Linked DNA regions of Homo sapiens: regions 2, 3, 4 and 5 are each linked to region 1. Evidence: promoter capture Hi-C in human tissues and cell types (Jung and others, 2019). All regions are on one chromosome and are shown on one strand. Each heading gives the region's core, a stretch centred on a gene start or on the middle of the fragment in contact. The rest is flanking DNA. Distances are from core to core; before and after follow the strand shown. Region 1 holds the start of LY6E (lymphocyte antigen 6 family member E). Region 2 has its middle 19 kb from the start of LY6D. Region 3 holds the start of GML (glycosylphosphatidylinositol anchored molecule like). Region 4 has its middle 19 kb from the start of GML. Region 5 overlaps CYP11B1 (cytochrome P450 family 11 subfamily B member 1).

Evidence for each region. Contacts are between HindIII fragments. The study calls those that stand out against the background at their distance.
Region 2: a contact is called between a fragment that was not itself captured here and the fragment with the promoter of LY6E in region 1, in 1 of the 25 tissues and cell types used here (lymphoblastoid cells).
Region 3: a contact is called between the fragment with the promoter of GML here and the fragment with the promoter of LY6E in region 1, in 8 of the 25 tissues and cell types used here (H1 embryonic stem cells, adrenal gland, dorsolateral prefrontal cortex and 5 more).
Region 4: a fragment that was not itself captured here is called in contact with the fragment with the promoter of LY6E in region 1 in 2 of the 25 tissues and cell types used here (dorsolateral prefrontal cortex and lymphoblastoid cells).
Region 5: a contact is called between a fragment that was not itself captured here and the fragment with the promoter of LY6E in region 1, in 3 of the 25 tissues and cell types used here (liver, lymphoblastoid cells and spleen).

Annotation. Positions count from the first base shown.
Region 1 is chr8:143,017,177-143,019,886 of GRCh38, reverse strand. It overlaps LY6E (lymphocyte antigen 6 family member E), which reads right to left and starts at 1,358. Exons shown (of 4, transcript NM_002346.3): 1 at 1,301-1,358. It overlaps LY6E-DT (LY6E divergent transcript), which reads left to right and starts at 1,497. Exons shown (of 2, transcript NR_026913.1): 1 at 1,497-1,727. The HindIII fragment of the contact is 17,617 bases long and covers 1-2,710 here.
Region 2 is chr8:142,804,489-142,807,198 of GRCh38, reverse strand. No RefSeq gene overlaps it. Among named protein-coding and RNA genes, the nearest start is that of LY6D, 19 kb to the right of the region's middle. The HindIII fragment of the contact is 9,093 bases long and covers 1-2,710 here.
Region 3 is chr8:142,833,477-142,836,186 of GRCh38, reverse strand. It overlaps GML (glycosylphosphatidylinositol anchored molecule like), which reads right to left and starts at 1,386. Exons shown (of 4, transcript NM_002066.3): 1 at 1,319-1,386. The HindIII fragment of the contact is 25,891 bases long and covers 1-2,710 here.
Region 4 is chr8:142,852,661-142,855,370 of GRCh38, reverse strand. No RefSeq gene overlaps it. Among named protein-coding and RNA genes, the nearest start is that of GML, 19 kb to the right of the region's middle. The HindIII fragment of the contact is 3,594 bases long and covers 1-2,710 here.
Region 5 is chr8:142,869,705-142,872,414 of GRCh38, reverse strand. CYP11B1 (cytochrome P450 family 11 subfamily B member 1) reads left to right here. Exons shown (of 9, transcript NM_000497.4): 9 at 1-58. Among named protein-coding and RNA genes, the nearest start is that of CYP11B1, 8.8 kb to the left of the region's middle. The HindIII fragment of the contact is 7,306 bases long and covers 1-2,710 here.

The sequences.
Region 1 (2,710 bases), core at 109-2,608:
ACACACCCAGCTGGGGTCGTGATTCTCTGTTTTGTGAGTGCATGGTGTTGGAGGGGGAGGCTGCTGCCTTCTGTCAGGGACAGCCGTGGGCAGAGGAGTGGGAGGGACATCCCGGGCCTGGGGAGCTAGTGCTGGGCACTGGGGGTAAGGAGGATGCCTCAGAGAACAGATCTGGAGAGGGGCCCGCAGAGGCCCTAAGGGGAGAGCAGCAGGCCAGGACAGTGAGACCTGGGCTGACATCCTGGGGTTGGGAGTGGGAGCCCCAGGTGGCCAAAAACAGTGCCAAGTCCGGCTGGGGCCTATCCCCGCCTCCAGGGAGTAGCCCGAGGAGGAAGGATCTCCAATTCCTTTTCCCCCCACCCCCCTAAAGTGAGGTTCTGGTGTGGGGGGGTCCCTGAGCTGTCTCTGAGGAAGTCCTAGCATACAGGGCCACAAACAGGTCCAGCTGGTGCCGCCACCTGCTCACTGGGTGGCACCCAACCCGCTGGGCCACCAGGCTGAGCTAAGGCACCGGTGGGAGCCGAAGGCAATTAGGAAGGCCGGGTGGGCCATGGAGCCCGGAGGGAGCCAGCCGGCAGGCCGTGGGGGGCGCCCCTGGGGCCCAGGCTGCAGGCTCATGGCTCATCCCCAGGCTCAGGGAAGCTGGCCCCTGGGAGCCAGGTATCTAGGGGCTGCCCAGCCAGCAAGGGGCGGGAGCCTCTCCTGTGTCCCGGAACGGGGAGGGGCCCGGCGGTCCACTCAGGGAGGCTGGGCTCCTTGGACCTCACCGCAAGCACCACCAGTGCCAAAACAAGAAGCGGGGGCGGGTTCCAGTGCTCCGGGGTGATATGCCGGGGGCGGTCAATCCTCCCTTTCCGGCCAGGAGCTCTGCAAGGTCCCGTGCCCCCTCCCCTAGTCCTCAAGGCTGTCCCTCCCGGCCCACGTAGAGGAGCCAGGAGCGTCTGGAGTTGGGTGATGGGCTCCAGTGGCTGCGCAGCCCTGGGGCGGCCGGGAGGCTCCTGGCGGCAGTCTCCGCCCGCTCCCGCCCCAGATCTTTGGAAACATTCGGGGAGGCCTGCGGGGGATGGGAGGAGAAGCTCAGCTCTCTGGGGACCAACCCACCGGCAGCCCCAGCCCCTCTCCTGCGCCTCCCCGTGCGCCCCTCTTGCTCTCTCCCACCCTCTCCCGCCCCGGCCCCCGCAGGGCGCCTTCCGCCGCGCGTGGCTGAGCCGGGGCCGCGTGCACCGCAGCCGAGGCCGCCGGGTCTGAGCGCGTGCGCGCAGGTGGCGGGGGCGTCCCGGCCGGGGGCCCGCGGACTCACCGCCGGGCGGACGCAGGTACCAGCAGCCTGGCCGAGCTCCCCGAACCTCGCGCGCTCTGGACCGCGGCTGGCCCGGAGCCTCCCAGGCAGCCGCGCGGCCCCGGGGCGGGGGCAGGGGCGGGACGCGGGAGGGGCCTCCGGCGGGCGGAGTCGGCGAGCCCGCGGTGGGGGTCCCCGCGCCGCCCAGGCCTACCCCGGCTCCTTGGGATAGATGGGGAAGCTGAGGCCCAGAAGGGGGCTGAGACCACCTCCCAGTTTCCCCAGTGAGGTGGCGCCTGAGCCACGGCCAGGCCCGGCCTCCTTCCACCCGGCCCTGCTGTGCGCGCGGCGGGTGCTGACCTGGCGAGGCCGGACAGGGGACCAGGTCGGGGTGACCGTCACTGACACCTGGACAGTCCTCGTTGTGTTCGGGGTGGGAAGCCCACGGGTGAGCAGACGTGTTTGGGTGTGAGCACGGAGGAGGGGTGCCTCGGAGAGTGTCGGGGAGCAGTGTTGGGGGTCTCGCCTGCGGAGTGGAGCTCGGGAGGGGAGGACGCAGGCACCCCCGCAGCCTGGGATTCCTGAGGTCATCTTGTCCCTGCTTCCCGCTCCAGGCTGGGCTGTTCCTTGGCCATCCCTCAGGCGGGGGTGGGGAGACCGGCAAGGGTTGGGAGGTGGGAGGTTGTGGGTGCTGGCTTCTGCGAGGGCACTGAGGCTCTGCCATCGGTGGGTGCCTCTCCTCCCGCCAGGCCCTCTCCGAGGGGCTGTGGGCGCTGGGGCTCTGCCACCGGCCTGTTCTCCAGTTGACAGTGCGTTTCCTTTCTGGGTGACAGGGCGAGCACCAGGGAGGGGTCTTCTGAACCCCACACGGGAGTAGGGGGAGGGTGTGCGGAAATGTGAGGGTGGGCAGGTGGCCATGTGGTCAGGAGGGGGCTGGGGCTGACAGACACCTGTAACACCCCTGTCTCAAATCTAGGGGTGCAGTCAATGTGGCTGTGTGTGTGTTTTGCATGAGTGAGTGTGTGTGGTGCGTGTGTGTGTGTGTATGGAGGCTGAGGCTGGGGCTGTGTGTGTCACGAGATGTCCTGGCCGTGGTATGATGGCATCGTGGGTGGGGCTTCCACAGCTTTGGGGGCGATGGCCCAGCTGTCTCTGGGGACAGGAGCCTCCAGTAGGCTGTGGCCCGGGGGAGTCCCTGCCTCTGGGTCTTACGTGGGGCACAGGCAGGGCATCTTCCCCTCTGGAATGTTGGCGGTGAGGGCAGGGGGTTCTGTCTCTGCAGCCGGCACCTGGGGCCATCCCTGCCATGGCAGGGGCTCAGTAAGAACTGTGGGACGAAAGCACGGGTGGGTTTGCCCCCTTCAAGACAGGACCCTCTGATTCAGAAAACAAGCTGCATTAGGAGGAGGGCTGTTTGGAAAAAACTCTCAA
Region 2 (2,710 bases), core at 61-2,560, 210 kb after region 1:
AGGTGAGTGTAAGTGTCTCATGCAAGGGGTAGAGAGGACTGGAGCCAATCCCAGTGGGGAGGGCAGACAGGATGAGGAGGGGGAGGTGGAAGGAGACCAGAAGGGGAGCCATCCTGAAGCAGGGAGACATTGGGGGTTGGAGGAGAGACTCCCAGGGGATTTGAGCTTGTGAGCTGCTGCCCCTCAGCCTCCAGAACCCCAGAGAGACCCTGAGGATAGAAATGGGGCCAGCCCCACTGTAAACAGGCCATGTCCCGTGACCCTAGAATATCCCTGTCACCCCACAGTCCCCCAGGCCTGGCCTGGGGTTGGATGGGTAGTGATTCAGACATGGCCAGGCTGCCCTGTGCACCTTGGCTCTGCCACTGGCCCAAGCTAAGCCTACCCTAGACAGGCAACACCACCCCAAGGAGCCTGCACCATTCCAGGCCCCGCCCAGGCCTCCACAGCCAGCATTTCGACCGGATCCTAGGTGATTTGTGTGCACACTGAAGATTAAGAAGCACTGGCTCAAAGCTTCCAGCCTCCAGTGCCTCAGTTTCCCCATTAGAATGGGTTTGGTGACCCCTGCCTACCCTGGTGCAAGGGAGAGTGCAGAGGGGAGGGGGCCATAGATATTCAGAAGCACCAGGGATGAGGCTGTACCTACTCAGAAGCGGCGGGGAGGGGGCTGTACGTACTCAGAAGCGGCGGGGAGGGGCTGCACATACTCAGAAGCAGCGGGGAGGGGGCTGTACGTACTCACAAGTGCGCTGGGCAGTCCCCCCAGGCTGCAGAGGTAGAGCCATGACCCTCTGAGAACACCCAGGACAGGGCCCAAGCTGCAGGGAGTAGGGGCCCAGAGGCTCAGGACCAAGGGACAGCAGAGAGGGGGGCACAGGAGCCTTCTGAGAGTCCTGGAGGTGGGGCAGAGTGAGGCCTAGTGGCATGAGTCAGGCCGGCCCTGCTCTCCCCAGCGCATCTTCCGGCTAAATTACCAGGTCTGGCTCAGTCGCCGGCCACCATATAAAGGCGCCTTTGCACTGTGGCTCCCAGTCCCTGGCGGACAACCCCGCGATGAGGCTTCTCCTGGTGCTGCTGCTTCTGGCTGCTGTGTGTGCTGCCCTGGGTAAGACGCTGGCCACACCAGGGGAGGGACAGGGGCAGGTGGCTCCTGGGCTGGGCACCCCGGGACCGGGCGCTGGCAGGGCAGGCTTTGCCAAGGATCACCAGCCTGGACTGCGGGCTGCAGGGAGTTGGGGGAGGCCTCTTCCTATGGGCACAGCTTCTGGTGTCTTTGTGGCTTGTGTGGGGAAAGCCCCGATGCTGGTCCTGGGTTCCAGCCTGGGTTCCATCCCCCTTTTCCCAAGACAGAGGGGAATTCTTGGGATGTTGGACTCTGAGTGCTAAAAAAGAAAGTCCTAAGAAAACCAGGGCTAGTTGGTCACCGCCCTAGCCCCACTCTACCCTGACCTTGATGACCTGGCTTTGGGGCCTGAAAAGGGGCCAGGAGGCAGGGGGTGTGGGTGGGAGGGACAGAGCATGTGATTATCAGCTGAAAAATTATCATCTAGCGATAATTAGCCCCATCAGCTTCTCCTGAGCGTGGGGTGAGGGTAGGGGGGAAGTGGGGAGGGCTGGAGACTTTGGAGAGCAGCCCCAGCTTGAGGAGGGGCCTGCAGTGGGAAGGCTGGAAAGACAGATGGAGGGGGCATCAGGAAAGGGCAGGAGTCAAGGTCAGGCTGCCCAAGCTGATCGGATCCCTCCAGCCCCTATACGGAAGGGCACAACCCTTCCATATATCAGGGCACAACCATGGGAGAGAAGGGGCCAAGGGTGCTAAGTCAGGACATGGGGACACTGGCCTGGGACACCTGTGCTCTCTGGGGCTTACTTTGCTTTTCTGGAAAGTTGGCCCATATGATGCTGACGGTCAGACAGCACCTGCTGGGAGCTGGTCACTGCTCCCAGGATCTAATGAGGGTGACCCCTTCATTCCCATCACAGCCCGAGGGCTTAGGGATTACCAGGATCCCTACGGAGAAGTGGCGGTAATGTAAGGTCCTTGTTCAGAGGAACCTAGGAGTGTTTCCCGGCCCCACCAGCACCAGGAACCCAGCTGTAGGCAGGGAGAGCAAGAAAGGTCAGGGTCAGACCCCAAGAACATGGATATCAGCTGCACAGGTGCGGAAGATGCAATCACCCCACGCAGCAGGCACTCGCTCTGAAGTCAGAGCAGGTGTGCTTTGCCCAGGGAACTGCTACAGGACACCCCCATCAAGACCACCCTACAGGAAGCCTACAGGGCACCCGTTATAGAAAACCCCTACAGAACATACCTAAAAGACACCCCTACAGAACACCCCCTAAACAACATCCCCTACAGAATACCCCATAAAAGACACATCTACAGGACATTCCCTACAGAGCACCGCCTGCAGTACACCCTTACAGGACCCCTGTACAGGGCACTGCTACGGGACACTCCCTACAGGACACCCTTACAGGAAACCCCTACAGGACACCCCTGCAGAACACCCCTAGAGGACACCCCTACAGAACATCTCTACAGGACGCCCCTACAGAACACCCCCTACAGGAAACCCCTTCAGGACACCCCTACAGGACCCCCGTACAGGGGCACTGCTTGAAGACACTCCCTACAGGACACCCCTTACAGGAAACCCCCACAAACCCCCCTTACGGGAAACCCCTAAAGGACACCCCTAGA
Region 3 (2,710 bases), core at 137-2,636, 180 kb after region 1:
CCACGTGTACTTCTGACTGCCCAGTTATAAATCAAGGGTTTCCAAGACCACCTCCTCCTAGATAATTTGCTAGAACAGCTTACAGAGCACAAGAAAACAGTTTACTTACTATTACCAGTTTATCACAAAGGTGACAACTCAGGAACCGTGAAACGGAAGAGATGCATGGGGCAAATACAGGGTAAGCTTAAGATGGCTTCAGACAAAAAGAGTAGGAATATCTTATTATCAGCAGACCCACTACAAGAAATATTGAGTTCATAACATATATAGAAATAAAGTATATGACAATATCACAAAGCAAAGGAGGCTGTAGAACTGAAAGGCAGAAACAGTTACGTCAGCGTCGGCGAGTGCAGGCTTCCAGGCAAAAAACATTGCAAGAGGTGACAAGGACAGACACTTCAGAGCCGAATGCAGTTTCGGACACTGAGAGTCCATTTTCTGACTATGGTGGCATTAAGCAATAAGTCACCCCAGAAGGATTAACTGGAAAATCCTCATCTGTTTGGAACTTAAGAACACACCTCCAAATAAGAAATAGACCCCCAAATCCTTCTCAATAGAAGTCAAGAATATTTTGGGCAAAGTCATAATAAAGAATGAAAAATAGAAACCTGGCAGAAGTAGCCTGAAGGGACACGGAAGGAAAAGCAGGGCTCCATTAGAAAAGGCAAAAAGACTGGAAACGAAGGCCTCCTTCTCTCCTTCGAAAGCAAGGAGCCAGAAAAGAACGAGCAGCAGAACGTGGAACAGGCTGCGGCCCGAGACCCGCGCCTTGGGGAATCACAGACAGTGTGGGGGTGGGCGGCCCCGGGACACCCCGAGGGAAGGGGACTCAAGAACTGAACGGAGCCCCAGCCCCAGACTCTCGAGGGAAGTTGAGCTGTAAGGGGAGGGGGGCCCCAGGGAAGCGGAGTTGGGGTGCTGGCATCTCCCTGGGACCCCTGAGCATAGTTGGGGGGTCTCCCTGGGACCCTGATGGGAGTGGAGCTCGAGAGGTCCCCCAGTACCCCTGAGAGGAGCTGAATTAGGGGGTCTCCCTGGGACCCTGAGGGGAATGGAGCAGGGGGCGTCTCCCCAGGAACCTGCGGGGAGTGGAGTTTTGAGGGGTCCCCCTGGCACCCCTGAGAGGAGCTGAGTTCGGGGGGTCTCCCTGGGGCTCCGAGGGGAGTGGGGGCACCCCATCCAGGGAAGCGCGGCGCACCCCCGGCGGCGTCCTGGCGGCCCAAGCAGCTGACGAGGAGGCTGCCTCAGCTGGGCCCCTGGGCAGACTCCAGTCTCACGCCTGGGTCCCGACCCGCCTCAGGAAACTGACCTGTGCCCCTCGGAGCCCCGCAGTGTGCGTGCCCGCCGCCTCCAGCCATCTGAGCCTCCCGCGCCGACCTCCCCACCCGCTTTCTGGAACTTTCGGGGGCCTCCGCCGGCCGCACAGCCCCGCCCTCCTTCCGGACCCTCAAAGCCCCGTCCCCAGGCTCCAGGCCTCCAGCCCATCTGCCAGTGTTCAAAGGTGGGCAGGGTCCCCCTTGGGGCTCCCAGGTGAAAATATTTCTCACAGAAATCTGCACACCCTGGCTCCATCCACGCTCCCTTTAGGAAAGCCACGGGGAATGTTCTAGAAGCGCACGGCCCTGGCTGCTGGAGAAACGGGACAGCAGCCACCCTCGGCAGCCTGTTGGCACCGCCCAGGCCCACCCTGCCCTCAAGGTCCCAGTCCACCTGCCTCGTTCCTGGACCCTCCCTCTAGGGGGTCCCGCCATCACCATAACCCCTGGGGACCCCGGGAGCCCCTCCGCTCAGGGTGCGACCCCGTCGCCTCTGGAGCCGGCCCTGTCCCTAACCCTGACCAAAGCCAGCTTGAGCGGTGCCCTTGCCCTTCAGCCCCGCCAGCGCCCACCTGTGCAGAGGTTTCAGGGGGAGACCTGCCTGGCTTTCGCTTGAGCTCCTGCCATTTTGCCTTCAAGCTGTGTGTGGCCAGGGACAGCTGGCTTCACCCGAGCATCTCCTACACAGTGTGGCTTGGCTCTTGTCGAAGTCATATAAAATAGGTGAATTTCTGAAATTGAAATGTTTTATTTGGGAGGAAATAACTGCAATTAGGGGCACGGGGGCAGACTGGCTGGCCTTCAGTATGTCCAAAGAACAAAGAAAAGGCTTTTTTAAATTCGCGGTGGCTTACACCTGTAATCCCAGCATTTTGGGAGGCTGAGGCGGGCAGATCATTTGAGGTCAGGAGTTCAAGACCAGAGTGATCAACATGGTGAAACCCCGTCTCTACTAAAAATACAAAAATTAGCTGGGTGTGGTGGTGTGTGCCTGTAGTCCCAGCTACTCAGGAGGCTGAGGCAGGAGAATCCCTTGATCCCAGGAGGTGGAGGTTGTAGTGAGCCGAGATCGTGCCATTGTGCTCCAACCTGCAGGACAAATCAAGTCTCTGTCTCAAAAAAAAAGGAACTATGTCTCTTTTTTATAAAGAAGAGAAATAGTACATATTGCTGTCTGAGTTTCATTGGCACTAGTAGGATTTTGGGGAGCTGGCAAGCTCTGGTTGATGAGTGAATCAGTGACGGCAGTGGGTGAACCGAGGCTTAGAGTTGCAGCAGGTGGTCTCAGTAGCCATCAGATAAAACTGGTTTCAGGTTACCGCAGACAGTTTCAGCAGTCAGGCCTCAGAGAAGTACATTCTTGGAGCAATGTTTTCTATCCTGAG
Region 4 (2,710 bases), core at 104-2,603, 160 kb after region 1:
ATTGTGGTTTTGATTTGTATTTCTCCAATGACCAGGGGTGATGAGGATTTTTTCATGTGTCTGTTGGCTGCATAAATGTCTTCTTTTGAGAAGTGTCTGTTCATATCCTTTGCCCACTTTATGATGGGGTTGTTTGATTTTTTTCTTGTAAATTTAAGTTCTTTGTAGATTCTGGATATTAGCCCTTTGTCAGATGGGTAGATTGCAAACATTTTCTCCCATTCTGTAGGCTGCCTGTTCACTCTGATGGTGGTTTCTTTTGCTGTGCAGAAGCTGTTTAGTTTAATTAGATCCCATTTATCTATTTTGGCTTTTGTTGCCATTGCTTTTGGTGTTTTAGTCATGAAGTCCTTTCCCATGCCTATGTCCTGAATGGTATTGCCTAGGTTTTCTTCTAGGGTTTTTATGGTTTTAGGTCTAACATTTAAGTCTTTAATCCATCTTGAATTAATTTTTGTATAAGGTGTAAGGAAGGGATCCAGTTTCAGCTTTCTACATATGGCTAGCCAGTTTTCCCAGCACCATTTATTAAATAGGGAATCCTTTCCCCATTTACTTTTGTCAGGTTTGTCAAAGGTTAGATGGTTGTAGGTGTGTGGTGTTATTTCTGAGGCCTCTGTTCTGTTCCATTGGTCTATTTCTCTGTTTCAGTACCAGTACCATGCTGTTTTGGTTACTGTAGCCTTGTAGTATAGTTTGAAGTCAGGTAGTATGATGCCTCCAGCTTTGTTCTTTTGGCTTAGGATTGTCTTGGCAATGCAGACTCTTTTTTGGTTCCATACGAACTTAAAGTAGTTTTTTCCAATTCTGTGAAGAAAGTCATTGGTAGCTTGATGGGGATGGCATTGAACCTATAAATTACCTTGGGCAGTATGGCCATTTTCACGATATTGATTCTTCCTATCCATGAGCATGGAATGTTCTTCCATTTGTTTGTGTCCTCTTTTATTTCATTGAGCAGTGGTTTGTAGTTCTCCTTGAAGAGGTCCTTCACATCCCTTGTAAGTTGGATTCCTAGGTATTTTATTCTCTTTGAAGCAATTGTGAATGGGAGTTCACTCATGATTTGGCTCTCTGTTTGTCTGTAATGGGTGTACAAGAATGCTTATGATTTTCGCACATTGATTTTGTATCCTGAGATTTTGCTGAAGTTGCTTATCAGCTTAAGAAGATTTTGGGCTGAGACAATGGGGTTTTCTAAATATACAATCATGTCATCTGCAAACAGGGACAATTTGACTTTCTCTTTTCCCAATTGAATACCCTTTATTTCCTTCTCTTGCCTGATTGCCCTGGCCAGAACTTCCAACACTATTTTGAATAGGAGTGGTGAGAGAGGGCATCCCTGTCTTGTGCCAGTTTTCAAAGGGAATGCTTCCAGTTTTTGCCCATTCAGTATGATAGTGGCTGTGGGTTTGTCACATATAGTTCTTATTATTTTGAGATACATTCCATCAATACCTAGTTTATTGAGAGTTTTTAGCAAGAAAGGCTATTGAATTTTGTCAAAGGCCTTTTCTGCATCTATTGAGATAATCATGTGGTTTTTGTCTTTGGTTCTGTTTATACGCTGGATTACATTTATTGATTTGCCAATGTTGAACCAGCCTTGCATCCCAGGGATGAAGCCAACTTGATCTTGGTGGCTAAGCTTTTTGATATGCTGCTGGACTCGGTTTGCCAATATTTTATTGAGGATTTTTGCATCGATGTTCATCAGGGATATTGGTCTAAAAAAATTCTCTTTTTTTTGTTGTGTCCTTACCAGGCTTTGGTATCAGGATGATGCTGGCCTCATACAATGAGTTAGGGAGGATTCCCTCTTTTTCTATTGATTGGAATAGTTTCAGAAGGAATGGTACCAGCTCTTCTTTGTACCTCTGGTAGAATTCAGCTGTGAATCCATCTGGTCCTGGACTTTTTTTGGTTGGTAGGCTGTTAACTATTGCCTCAAATTCAGAGCCTGTTATTGGTCTATTCAGCGATTCAACTTCTTCCTGGTTTAGTCTTGTGAGGGTGTATGTGTCCAGGAATTTATTCATTTATTCTAGATTTTCTAGTTTATTTGCATAGAAGTGTTTATAATATTCTCTGATAGTAGTTTGTATTTCTGTGGGATTGGTGGTGATATCCCCTTTATCATTTTTGTCTATTTGATTTTTCTCTCTTTTCTTATTAGTCTTGCTAGCAGTCTATCAGTTTTGTTGATCTTTTCAAAAAACCAGCTCCTGGATTCACTGATTTTTTGAAGGGTTTTTTGTGTCTCTATCTCCTTCAGTTCTGCTCTGATCTTAGCTATTTCTTGCCTTCTGCTAGCTTTTGAATGTGTTTGCTCTTGCTTCTCTAGTTCTTTTAATTGTCATGTTAGGGTGTCAATTTTAGATCTTTCCTGCTTTCTCTTGTGGGCATTTAGTGCTATAAATTTCCCTCTACACACTGCTTTAAATGTGTCCCAGAGATTCTGGTACATTGTGTCATCGTTCTCATTGGTTTCAAAGAACATCTTTATTTCTGCCTTCATTTCGTTATTTACCCAGTAGTTATTCAGGAGCAGGTTGTTCAGTTTCCATGTAGTTGTGCAGTTTTGAGTGAGTTTCTTAATCCTGGGTTCTAATTTGATTGCAGTGTGGTCTGAGAGACAGTTTGTTGTGATTTCTGTTCTTTTACATTTGCTGAGGAGTTCTTTACTTCCAACTATGTGGTCAATTTT
Region 5 (2,710 bases), core at 61-2,560, 150 kb after region 1:
TTTCAAGCAACTCCAAAATTGAATGTGACAAACAGTATTAAACCTTAAGCCTCAAGAATAATCTCCTTTGACTGGATTTTCCATCTTCTGAACATAGTGGTGCAGGGATTGTTTCCCTCAGGGCTTCAGGATGCTCTGCCCCTGCAGCTTGGCTGGGTGCAGCTGCAGTGCAGCTCTCATGAGTTGGAGTTGCATTCCTGCAGGTCTCCCAGACTGGAATGACTCACCGGTAGCTTCACCTACCTGGGATCCTGGGCTGTCCTGCTCTGCTGCCTCCACTAGGCATGGCTTTCACAGCAGCCCTCTGCCTCAGTCTTGTGCCTGAAGTTGTGGGCCACTCCACCCTTTGATATCCAGGTGCAGGCTTCCACACCCCACAGCTCATGCAACCTTCACTCCAGCAGAGATGACCCTATGTTGACACCACCAAGGTTTACTACATGTGCCCTCTGGAGGGGCAGCCACTGTGGCACATGACCCACATAAGCTTACTGGAGCCCACTTGGGGTGGTCAATGAACAGAACTCCAGAATGTGGGGAGCAGAGCCTTGAGGTAGCACAAGGGAGTGAGTGCCAAGGTCTTACAGAAAAATATAGCCCATCCTTTAAAAATATTCTGTCCCCCTAGACTCTTGCACTTTGGGTGTGTGGTGACAGTGGCAGCCCCAGTTATTTCTAAAATGCCTCCAGGGTCATTCTTCCATTGTCTTGGTGAACAACACCTGGCTGATCCATACTAATCTTATCAAATGGTCCCTTGGCCACACCCTTGGTGCTGTCTCCAGAACATGCTTTCTCATATTTTGCAATATGGACAGACTGGCAATTTCCCAAATCTTTAAGTTCTGCTTCCCTTTTGATTTAAAAAAAAATCCATCTTCAAATTATTTTTCTCTTCTTCTATTTTACTATAAACATTCAAGAGCACCAAGTTGCACCTTAAACACTTGGCTTAGAAATCTCTTCAGCCAAATATCTTATTTAATTACTCACCAGTTCTACTCTACATAAAACACTAGGACATAAAGTCAATTCAGCCAAGTTCTTTGCCAGTTTATAACAAGGACTACCTTTCCCCCAGTTTCCAAATAACATGTTCCTTATTTCTGTTTGAAGTCCCATAAGAATGGTTTTTATCATCTATATTTCTAGTACCATTCTGTCCATGGCCACTTAGATATTCTCTAAGAAGATGGAGGCTTTCTTTACAGCCCTCCTCCTCTTGTTCTGAGCCCTTACCAGCAGCATCCTTCAGGGCCTGCTCATGGTGACATAGGCTTTCTCTAGCATGCACTTCAAAACCCTTCTAGCCTCTACCCAATTACCCAGCAGCACCCCATCTTTCAGTACCAATCTTCTGTCTTAGTTTATTCAAGCTGCTATAACAAAGCACCACAGACTGGGTGGCTCGGAAACAACAGAGATTTGTTGCTCACAGATCTGGAGCCTGAGACATCTGAGATCAAGGTGCTGGCAGATTTGGTGTCTGGGGAGGGTCTATTTCCTGAGTCATAGATAGGACATTCTTACTGTGTCCTCACATGATGGAAAGAAATGAAGAAGCTCTCTGGGGACTCTTTTGTGTGGGCACTTTCACTTTCAACAGCATTTTTCAGCTTTACTTGCACTTATCCTGAAAAATTTCCTGTACATGTATCCAGCAGTGGAATTTAAAAAAACAAACAAGCAAGGATTGGCAATAGGGTTTGGAGGAGCCAGGACCCAGATATCCAAGATAGCAGGCAGGGTCTTTTTTGGAAAAGAGCACAGTCTAGCCCTGCTCACATGTCTCAGCCCTTTTACTGATAGAGAGGGACTGTTGGGCTCTCTTCTTCCTTAAGAGTTGTCCTTGGAAATGTCCACCTCTGGCTGGAAAATAATTCCCCAGCTCCAGCCTTCTCACTCTCCTAGGTGAAGGTGTGTGAGTGTTGTGTGGAGAAGGGCACAAGCCTGAGGCAGCACAGGGGAAGGTGTCCTTGAGGATGGCAGAAACTCTGCTTTGCCTGAAGAACCTGTAATGGCCTCCCTGAGGGAGCTGCCTTGCAAGACACTGTTGATTTGTCTCAGAACCTACTGCACCATCTCTCTTTCCTTCTAGACCTAGAGCTACACTTAAGTACCAGCAGGCCCCAAAAGATGAGGTAAAAGTGTGACCCAGGAGGAGCTGTGCTACACTCTAAAACAACCATGTGCCATTCCCAATACATGCAGATGCATCAGGGGAAAACAAGTGGAAATGAATTTTAAGTGGGTGGGATCATGGTTGAACAAAAGAAAAGTTAGATTCAGGCTGAATTTATTGATATGGGCCCTCCAAGCAGAGATTCTGGATAGTTTGAGAGTTAGAAATGGGCTCTAATAGTCTGGTTGGTTGGCTGAAATATGAACAAAATATGGCCGACATGAAATGAATGCCAGGACAATCTTAGTTCACCATAGAGGAACATATCCAAAGCCTGAAGGAGAGTGAAATGATAAAGCAGATTGATCATGTAAGATCTGTGCCAATCCACGGAGGCCACCCATCCCCGGAGGCCCAAGGAAGTATCTTTCACCATGACTGTCAGAAATCAATTTGGGAAGGGAGTTTTTTTATCCTTGAAGAGCTCTGTGGGCACTCTTCTCTGCAGGTCAGGCATCATAGTGGGAGCTGCTGGCACTTAACTGGGATCCTTAAAGGCAGCGGAAATAATTGCAGTGGGAGGGGCGT